Linked DNA regions of Homo sapiens: region 2 is linked to region 1. Evidence: promoter capture Hi-C in human tissues and cell types (Jung and others, 2019). All regions are on one chromosome and are shown on one strand. The core of a region is centred on a gene start or on the middle of the fragment in contact, and the rest is flanking DNA. Distances in the headings are between cores, read along the strand shown.

Region 1 (4,428 bases), core at 858-3,357:
CAGGTCACTTGAGGTCAAGAGTTCAAGAACAGCCTGCCCAACATGGTGAAACCCTGTCTCTATTAAAAATACAAAAACTAGCCAGGCGTGGTGGCTGGTACCTGTAATCTCAGTTACTCGGGAGGCTGAGTAGAATCACTTGAACCTGGGAGACAGAGGTTGCAGTGAGCCAAGATCTAGCCACTGCACTCCAGCGTGGGCAACAGAGCAAGACTCTGTCTCAAAAAAAAAAAAAATCTATTACACGATCAATTCTATTCGAAATAATTTCAATGCAATTCAACAGCAACTTCTTGAACACTTCCTAGGCATGTTTTCCTCAATGGCAGAGACCATATCTTCACCTATGACTCCCCAATATTTAATCAATGCCAGAGATAAAAGTGCTCAGTAAGTATTACTGGAAAAAATGTGTATCTAGCATAATACAGACTATCTATTATTAATCCAAGGGCAAAGAATTCTAAAAGAAAAAAGATTTCTTTTGGCTTTTAGCCAAAAAACCCTCCACATATTCCTCTTGAAAATTAAACCAGTCTGGTTATTCATTTTGTATCCCTATTGAATCTTACCACCTCCTTAAAGTTAAAATGGCTCAATGTTATTATTTTACTTACCCACAGTTTCTACGTATGTTTGAAGCCAAGGAAAATGCATTCCTGCACCACTGAGCACAGATGTTTCCACTTCTTCATCATCTGTCACAGGCCCTTTTAATTCTTCACTGAAATCACTCATACCTATTACAAGATGAGATATCAGTTACTTTCTGTACATCTTAATCCACAGTCTTCTGAGTTGTACAGAAAAACGGCTATCTTTTTATCTAATAAATATAATTTGATTAGCAAAATGCATTATACCTGTCAGCTCTTTTAAAGTAAAAAATGAATTTAACTATGTCAGCAACAGCCAAAATGAATGATCCATTAAAGACCGAACCACTAATGTTTCAAGTCCATGTAAAGATAAATAAGATACTGCCCCTCTAATTTAAAAAATCTCAAGTCTAGACGAAGAAACAGCAAAACGTATAATAACAAAACAATATGAAAAGTACAGTAAGAATAGAAGTAGCAGCTAATATTTATTAGGCCCTTACTATGCACTAGAAGTATAAATTATCTAATTTAATCCCCACAGCAATCCTGAGGTGGGTACTATTACTTTCTTCCATGTGAAGGTTGAAAAAACTGAGGGGCTTAGTGAAATGATGGAACCTGCCTAACATCACAAAAAATGGTGAGGACGATAGTCTAGGAAATAGAACACCAAACTACTTGGCATGACTAGAATTCGAGGTGCGTGTGGAGGAGGGGTGCGGAAGGTGAGAAACGAACCTAGAAAAATCATCATAAGCCAAGGTGAGTTTAGACTTACTCCTAAAGATGCTCAGGGCCCCTTCCTCATTACCCATATGAAATCGAGTATTAGTGCCCCTGATACTACCTCCAAATTTCCCCTATTTCCCCTCTTCAATCCTACAGCACTACTCTAGTTCAAGACCCCTTCAAACAGTGCCTAGATTACCGCATCAGCTTTCTAAACAATTACCCTGGCTCAGATTTTGCATCTCTGCATTATACCCAGAGTAAACCTTCTAAATTCAAAGCATGTGGCTAGGAGTATGAATTATAAGTAACAACTGAATTTGAATCCGACCCATCACGTGTTTTCAGGAGTAGTTACACAAATCCTCCCTTTCCAAATCCTCAAAAACCCAAATTGGTGACCCGCAGTTGCCACGGCAACCAAAGCTTCTCTATCCCCTTCTTTCGTTTTCAGACCCCAAGGGTTTCAGGTATTAGGAGGAAATATCAGGAGAACATGGATGAATCCTGACACACCCCTTCCCGTTCCATTTAAACGCAGGAACCACGGGCGATATCTGCGGCACTTACCCGCCTAAATTTAGAGCTCCTCAGTAAAGCTAAACTCAGTCTCCGACTCCGGCCCACGTGAAGAAATTCCCACCGGAAGACGAGTTAGGAGAGCTTTATATGAGCAGGCGCTAAACCTGGTTTAGGTATTTAGGCAGCGCGCGGCCCGGCTCGTAACTCCTCCTGCTGCAGCAGGCGTATCGTTGGCCTCGCCTCGACCCCGGAAGTGACTTCTGGAAGTGACCCAGGAAGTGACAGTGAGCTGCCTCTCTGCGATTGGTTTTGCCCGAGTTTTATTTTTGTCTGTCTCAGCTAGAAAGTGGGAGACTTTCATTTAAAATGGAAATTGGGGCGAGGGGTTGGCGGCTGGGCGAAGGGAGCATTCAAAAGCGGAGAATGTCACTTTACCCGAGAAATTCACTACGATGGGCCATTGGTTTCTGCTCGGCTCGCAGGCGCACTGCACGAGTGGAGGTGTGGCTAGTGGCTGTGATGAGATAAATCCATGCATAGCCTTTTCATTGCGAGCTTGAAAGTTCTTTTCTATTACAGTTTTAGCTTTAGGTTTAATTGGTTCGACTGCCTTCTCCACAATTTGGGCGAGAATTTCCTTTGCCTTCTCAGCAAAAGTTGTTCTGCGGACCCGTCTGGGTCAACTTTCATGAGGGACATTGAGACAAACAAATGAAATATGGGTTAAAGGTAAGATGGTTAAACCGTGTGAAATGAGAGACAGTTGAGGGGTTCTAGGGAAGATGATCCCGGAAAAGGACTGCAGGCCCATGGAAACGCAGTGTGCTTCTCCAATATTTGGAGGGCTGATCAGTGAAAGAAGGATCAGACCCTTTTTCTTAGCAGCAGAGAACAGAACTAGGACTAATAAGTGAAAGGTAAAGGGAGGCTGCTTTCAAGTCACAGCAAGAAAGAATTTTGTCCACAAATGAGGATGCACAAATATAGCATAGGCTCCCCCAGGAATCACTGAGTTTCCTCTGTGTAGGTGAACAGTTTGAGTAGAATCGGAGTATCGGAGAGGAAATTAAAGGGTCTGGTAAGAGTTTGAGGCCGGGCGCGGTGGCTCATGCCTGTAATCCCAGCCCTTTGGGAGGCCGAGGCAGGCGGAAAGTTTGAGCTCAGGAGTTCGAAACCAGCCTAGTCAACATGATGAAACCCCGTCCCTACAAAATAAAAATAAAAAAAAATAAGCTGGGGTGATGATGCATGCCTCTAGTCCCAGCTACTCGGGAGGATGAGGTGGGAGGATCACCTGAGCCCAGGGAGGTCGAGGCTGCAGTGAGCTGTGATCACCCTACTGCACTCCAGCCTGGGCGACAGAATGAGACCCTGTCAAAAAAAATTTTGTACATGGATTCCTTAAAATGCTACAAATAGTTGATTCTATGTTGTCTTCTGCATAAAACAATATGCAGTAGTTAAGGACTTGCAAGAAAAGTTCCTTCTGCTGCTCTCTCTGTCATTAGTTCTTGAGTCCTCACTCAAGCTTGTGCTCTAACTCTACAGGCAGGGCTAACATAAATTATGCGTAGTCCAGGAGACCACACACAAAATAACATACATAATCATTACTTTCTTGTCTAGAGGCTTAGTCTGGCTACTTTTCTCCCATTGGCTTGAGGTGTAAATTCACCAAAACCAGCCCAGAAATGATTTTACATGGAAAAAAGTTTATGTTCTCCCGAAAATGAGGAAGAGCTTTCAGATTTTCCTCGAAGTTCTCAAACAGCTCTAAGGAGCAGTAGGAAACGTGCCCTACCTATGCTTTTTCTTTCCCATGCTGCAATTCTGACAGAAAATGTGTTGGAGAGAAGAGATAAAAAAAATCAACTAGATCACATCCAATAGCATAAACAAGAAGGAAGGAGGGAAGGTTGCCGTGGCAGGCATCTGTAGTCCCAGCTACTCCAGAGGCTGAGGCAGGAAGATCGCTGAGCTCAAAAGTTCAATTCCATCCTGGGCAACATAGCAAGACCATGTCTCAAAAAAAAAAAAAAAAAAGGCATGACAAATATGAAAACATAAAGCATGCAAAGACTTTTCTAGATTTCAATCTATAAGAAAACATGTCCTAAGAAAAACATGTTCTTACAATTACTTTGTGCTACAGAGCAACTTAATATGGTGATGAATTATGTTGTTTTTAAAGTTGCAAACTGTCATTTAAGGAATATTATTTCCATGAACGCTTCCTGTGCAATCTATTAAAGAACAAACTTCACATAGCCAAACAGTTGAAGAGACCTCATCATAAATAGACTATCCTATATCACAGCTAACGAGAATAAAAAAGGAATGTGGCATGAAAGCATAAAAATAAAAACATCTCAGATAATAATATAGAGAAAACCAAAATACATGGGCTAGAATTCCACCCCAGGGACTGTATCCTCAAAGACACAGGTTTTTCTTCCTTTTTCTTTTTTTTTTCTTTTCATGTTTCAGTACTCTGAGCAGCTACAAAAAGAAGACCAGTCTATCCTGCTGGAGACAGTGGCCACGTGAAGAAAGAGCTCTTGCAGTATGAAAGACC
Region 2 (4,428 bases), core at 1,042-3,541, 1.1 Mb before region 1:
TCTTCTAGAAAACAGAAGAGAACACTTTTCAACTTCATTTTATGTAGCTACCAAAATATACACATGACATATACAGTCTTGTCCCTTGATATCCATGAGGGATTGGTTCCAGGACCCCCGTGGATAACAAAATCCAAGGACAGTCAAGTCTCTGACATAAAATGGCATAGCACTTGTATGTAACCTATGCACATCCTCCTGTATACTTTAAATCATGTCTATATTACTTATAATACCTAATACAATGTAACTGCTACTTAACTGTTATACTGTATTTCTATGTGTACTATTTTTTACTGTTTTATTGCTATTTTTCCAGATATATTTGATCCATGGTTTGTTGATTCTGCAGATGCGGAATCCTGAGATACAAAAAGCCAATCATACACTGGAAACTATAGATCATGGCAAAGAGAAATTAGAAGACCCAAACAAATGAGTCCTCATGAATTGAAGGACTCAATATTATCAAAATGTCTATTCTGCTCAAACTGATCTATAGATTCAATGCAATCACAATCAGAATCCCAGAAAGAGGTGTTTTTGCTTATTTGTTTGTTTTCTGTTTTGGTAGAATTGCTAAGCTGATTTAAGAATTTATAAGGAAGTACAAAGGACCCAAAATGACCAAAATAGTTTTTGTTTGTTTGTTTGTTTTAATGAGATAGGGTCTCACTATCTTGGCCAGGTTGGTCTTGAAGTCTTGGCCACAAGCAATCCTCCCACCTCAGTCTCCCCAAAGTGCTAGGATTACAGGCATGAGCTAGTGTGTCCAGTCACAAAATGACCAAAATAGTTTTAAAAAAGAAACAAAGTTGGAGTTCTTATGTCATAGGATTTCAAGTTTTATTATAAAGCTATAATAATCATGACAATATGGTTAAGACATAAGGATAGAGCTGTAGATCAGTAAAACAGAATAGAGAGTCATAAAATAGTAACTCACATATTTGAACAATTGTTTTTCAACAAAGAAACCAAAGTAACTTAATGGAGAATAAAGAAAGGATAATGTTTTGAAAACTGGCGCTGGAACAACTAGATATCCATATTTTAAATAGGAGGAAGGAAGGAAGGAAGGAAGGGAGAGAGGGAAGGAAATAGCAAATAATTTGTATTCTTTCCCTCCCTTTCTCTCCCTCCCTCTATGGGTACAAGAGAAAACATCTCTTCAGAATGCTATTTTGGGTGATGAATAGGTTATATGTTAGGAGAGAAGGGTTCTAACCACAGAGTAGGTGGGCATTGACTGAAGGACTAAAGAGTTTTATTCTTAGTATAAAGGCAATAGGACACGTTGTAAAATATTGAGTGGAAATGTGATATAACTGGAAGGGCATTTTAGAGAGCATTTTAAAATTGAAATGTGTAGGAAGGATTTAAATACTAAGAGATTAAAGTCATGGAGAGCAGTAAGGAAGCTTTTACTAATTTGAAGCATGAACACAGACGAGCTAGGACAGGGTGCTATTTTTGGGCATGTTCCCTTCCTTCCCTGTAAGGGGCAGACAAATCTTGGGAAGAACCAAATAACACATATGAAATGAAGAGGGCCATTTCCTGACAAAATAGATCAGGTATGAAAGGAGCTCCAGGGAGAAGAATATCAACAAAGAATAAAATAATTGAGGAAGACTTCGTGGAGGCAGTCAGATTTAATTTGTGCCTTGAAGCAGGGTGGAATTGAGATGCATGAACTTGTATAATTGCACGAAGAAGGGAGAGCACTAGACAAACAAAGAAAGTAAATGTAGTATTGTAACTTTGGTTTGATTATATTTTAAGGGAAGTAATTTAGGCAAAATAATGGTTTCCCCAAAGATTTCTCCATACTAATGTTAGGACCTGTGAATATCTCACCTTACATGCAAAAGGAACTTTGCAGTTGTGATTAAGGTTGAGGACTTTGAGATGGGGATATTACCCTTGATTATTTTAGTGAATCCAACCTAATCACATGAGTCCTTACAGTTCTAGAAGGTTAGAAGTCCAACACATGTTTCACTCCTTAATAATACACTTGTGGCTGTTAGCATCCAAAGACATCCCCTGACAATTCCTCTTTTTTAAATTTATTTATTTTTTGCATGTATTTGCCTTTGAATTCTGGGCCAAACTTGTAACTTCCTTTGGTCAACAGAATGCGGCAGAAATAATATTCTGAAACTTCTGAATTGAAATCTTAAAAGGATGATCAATGTCTACTTCCTGCCTTGTAGAATCTGGGTGGCATGCTGTGAGGAGACACAGGTAGCCCTTGGAGAGGCCCACATGTAGAAGAACTGAGGCCCTAGGCCAATAGCCAAAGTTAAGCTTCCCATTCAACACCCAGCGTCAATTGTCAGCTATGTGAGTGACTTTCCAGCCACCGTCGCATAACGGCACATTATGCAGTTATAGGCAGTCAAACCAGAATTACTCTTAAAATGTTCCTTTCTCATTCTTTTAAAAACATTTCATATTTTCTTCCAGAAGCATATGTTTTCTAAATTGTAAGCATTTTAATGGCAAGGACTCTATCTTGTTTAAGTTAATATTTCAAGATTTAGCCCATGACTGGCACATAAAAGCTACTCAAAACTATTAAAAGAATGAAGAGTGAATGAATGAGTGTTTAACCTATAATCGGAAGGAAAAAAATACAGTGTATTAAAAATAAAAATATAATAATTAAAATAAAGTGCTCAGTTAAGCTTGGAATCAGAATTTTTCACTTGGGGATTTTATCCAAACCCAACCCACAATATTGCCATTAAAACTAAGAAATACACACCACTTCATCCTAATCCTAGCATGCACTAGTAACGTGTCTTATTTCCCATTCCCAAGGCAACTCAGTTCTTGGGTCATTCTGTATATTCATGTGTGTCCTGTTCAGCAGTTCTAAGTATACTCAACAAAGCATGATACAAAGAGTAGCTCAAATGATTATGCTTGTTGGTTGGTTTTTTTATCCGAACAAAAGTGGCTTGTCTTCAGACATTTTTTGGAAATAAAATGCTCTGCTCCAATTGTTGGAAATAATATTTGTCCATAGGTTTCAAACAGGAATCTCAGAAGTTTTTAATTATTGTGTATTATTTCTTCTTTATAATGCCCTGAGCTCACAAGAAAAAAAAAAAAAGGGGGTCTGCCACTGTGGTTGGCATGCCAATGAAGCCTGTTGTGAACTCTCGAGTATAATATAAACCTCTGCCGAACACATAAAATTCTTGGCTTCCGAGAGGAGTCTTGTAGAAAGAGTGCTGTGTTTGCTTCCAGCATAGTTATTCTATTCAGAGCTCTAATCCCAAGTCACTTTTAAAAGACCAAGTCCAAAGAAAGTTGACACAGTTCACATTTTTTAAATTAAAGAACAATTTCTACTCTTTTTATAGTTGACAAGAGTATTGTAGTGTTGTCTTATTAGTAGTGAATAATTCTAGAATACATAAATAGTTCACTTTATAAAAATCTTTTAGGTGACGCGGCCAGATCGGGATGAAAATCCAAAGACTGGAAACAACTGAACTTGAAATTAGCTGCCAAATGACCCAGATGGGGAGAATCGAATATCAAATTTTTTTTTGAAGTTTGAGAAAAGTATCAGGATGGTCACTCAGGCTTAAAGAAATAAAAGCAGCAGGGTCTAGGCTGGCGAATCTTAGTCATTCTGACAATGAAAGGCTAATGGCATGATCTCTGGGGTCAGAACCCTTGACAAGTATTCCAGCTGCATCCCTTGCAAACTGTATGGAGGATAAACATGACATCGAATGGGTGATCAATAAATATTAGGTTGATACAAAAGTTATTGCAGTTTTTGCCACTGAAAGCAATGGCAAAAACCGCAATAACTTTTGCACCAATCTAATGTTAGCTATCAGGAGTCTGCACATGAAACAATACAAAACAAAAAAGTCCAGAGAAACAAAAGAAGTCAAGGTTGGTTATGCTTTTCTCTGTTATTATCTCAATCACAAAGACCCTTAGATTGATCTTTAAAAATCTTAAGCAGAGTATAGTCCAAAGGGAAAATAGAAGAACAAAGAAAGTAAAAGAATCCGATGGATAAATTACCTAAGATTAGAACATGGTACCACATGCATCTTGCATGACAAGAAGAATATGAGATTTTATGGAGAAGCCGTATTGTACACATCTCTTTATCCTCCTGTACCTCACAGGTATGGGAGAGCCCCCAGGATTTAGAATTTATGAAATTACTGATGATAAAACAAGAGTTGCAAGCAGAAAGAAGTCTCATGCTCTAGATCCCCAAGGATATTGCAAAAAAAGACACTTCAAATATGGAGACAAATATGAAAGGGAATACACGTGGCATGAGTATGCTTATTCTCCCATGTTGTATGGTGGTGATGGGAAAGGCAATGATGAGTAGATGTGGTGGGCCTTGGAACCGTATTGATTTAAGAAGGCTGTGGCTGA

What was found. Contacts are between HindIII fragments. The study calls those that stand out against the background at their distance.
Region 2: a fragment that was not itself captured here is called in contact with the fragment with the promoter of TAF1A in region 1 in 1 of the 25 tissues and cell types used here (mesenchymal stem cells).

Annotation. Positions count from the first base shown.
Region 1 is chr1:222,587,826-222,592,253 of GRCh38, forward strand. It overlaps TAF1A (TATA-box binding protein associated factor, RNA polymerase I subunit A), which reads right to left and starts at 2,108. Exons shown (of 11, transcript NM_005681.4): 1 at 1,902-2,108; 2 at 618-740. The coding sequence starts at 738. It overlaps TAF1A-AS1 (TAF1A antisense RNA 1), which reads left to right and starts at 2,095. Exons shown (of 3, transcript NR_110613.1): 1 at 2,095-2,137; 2 at 2,433-2,582; 3 at 4,341-4,428. RefSeq lists enhancers at 2,075-2,608, 2,609-3,141. The HindIII fragment of the contact is 5,175 bases long and covers 614-4,428 here.
Region 2 is chr1:221,445,554-221,449,981 of GRCh38, forward strand. All of the region lies in intron 3 of LOC105372932 (a long non-coding RNA gene), which reads left to right. Among named protein-coding and RNA genes, the nearest start is that of LINC02817, 110 kb to the left of the region's middle. The HindIII fragment of the contact is 3,254 bases long and covers 665-3,918 here.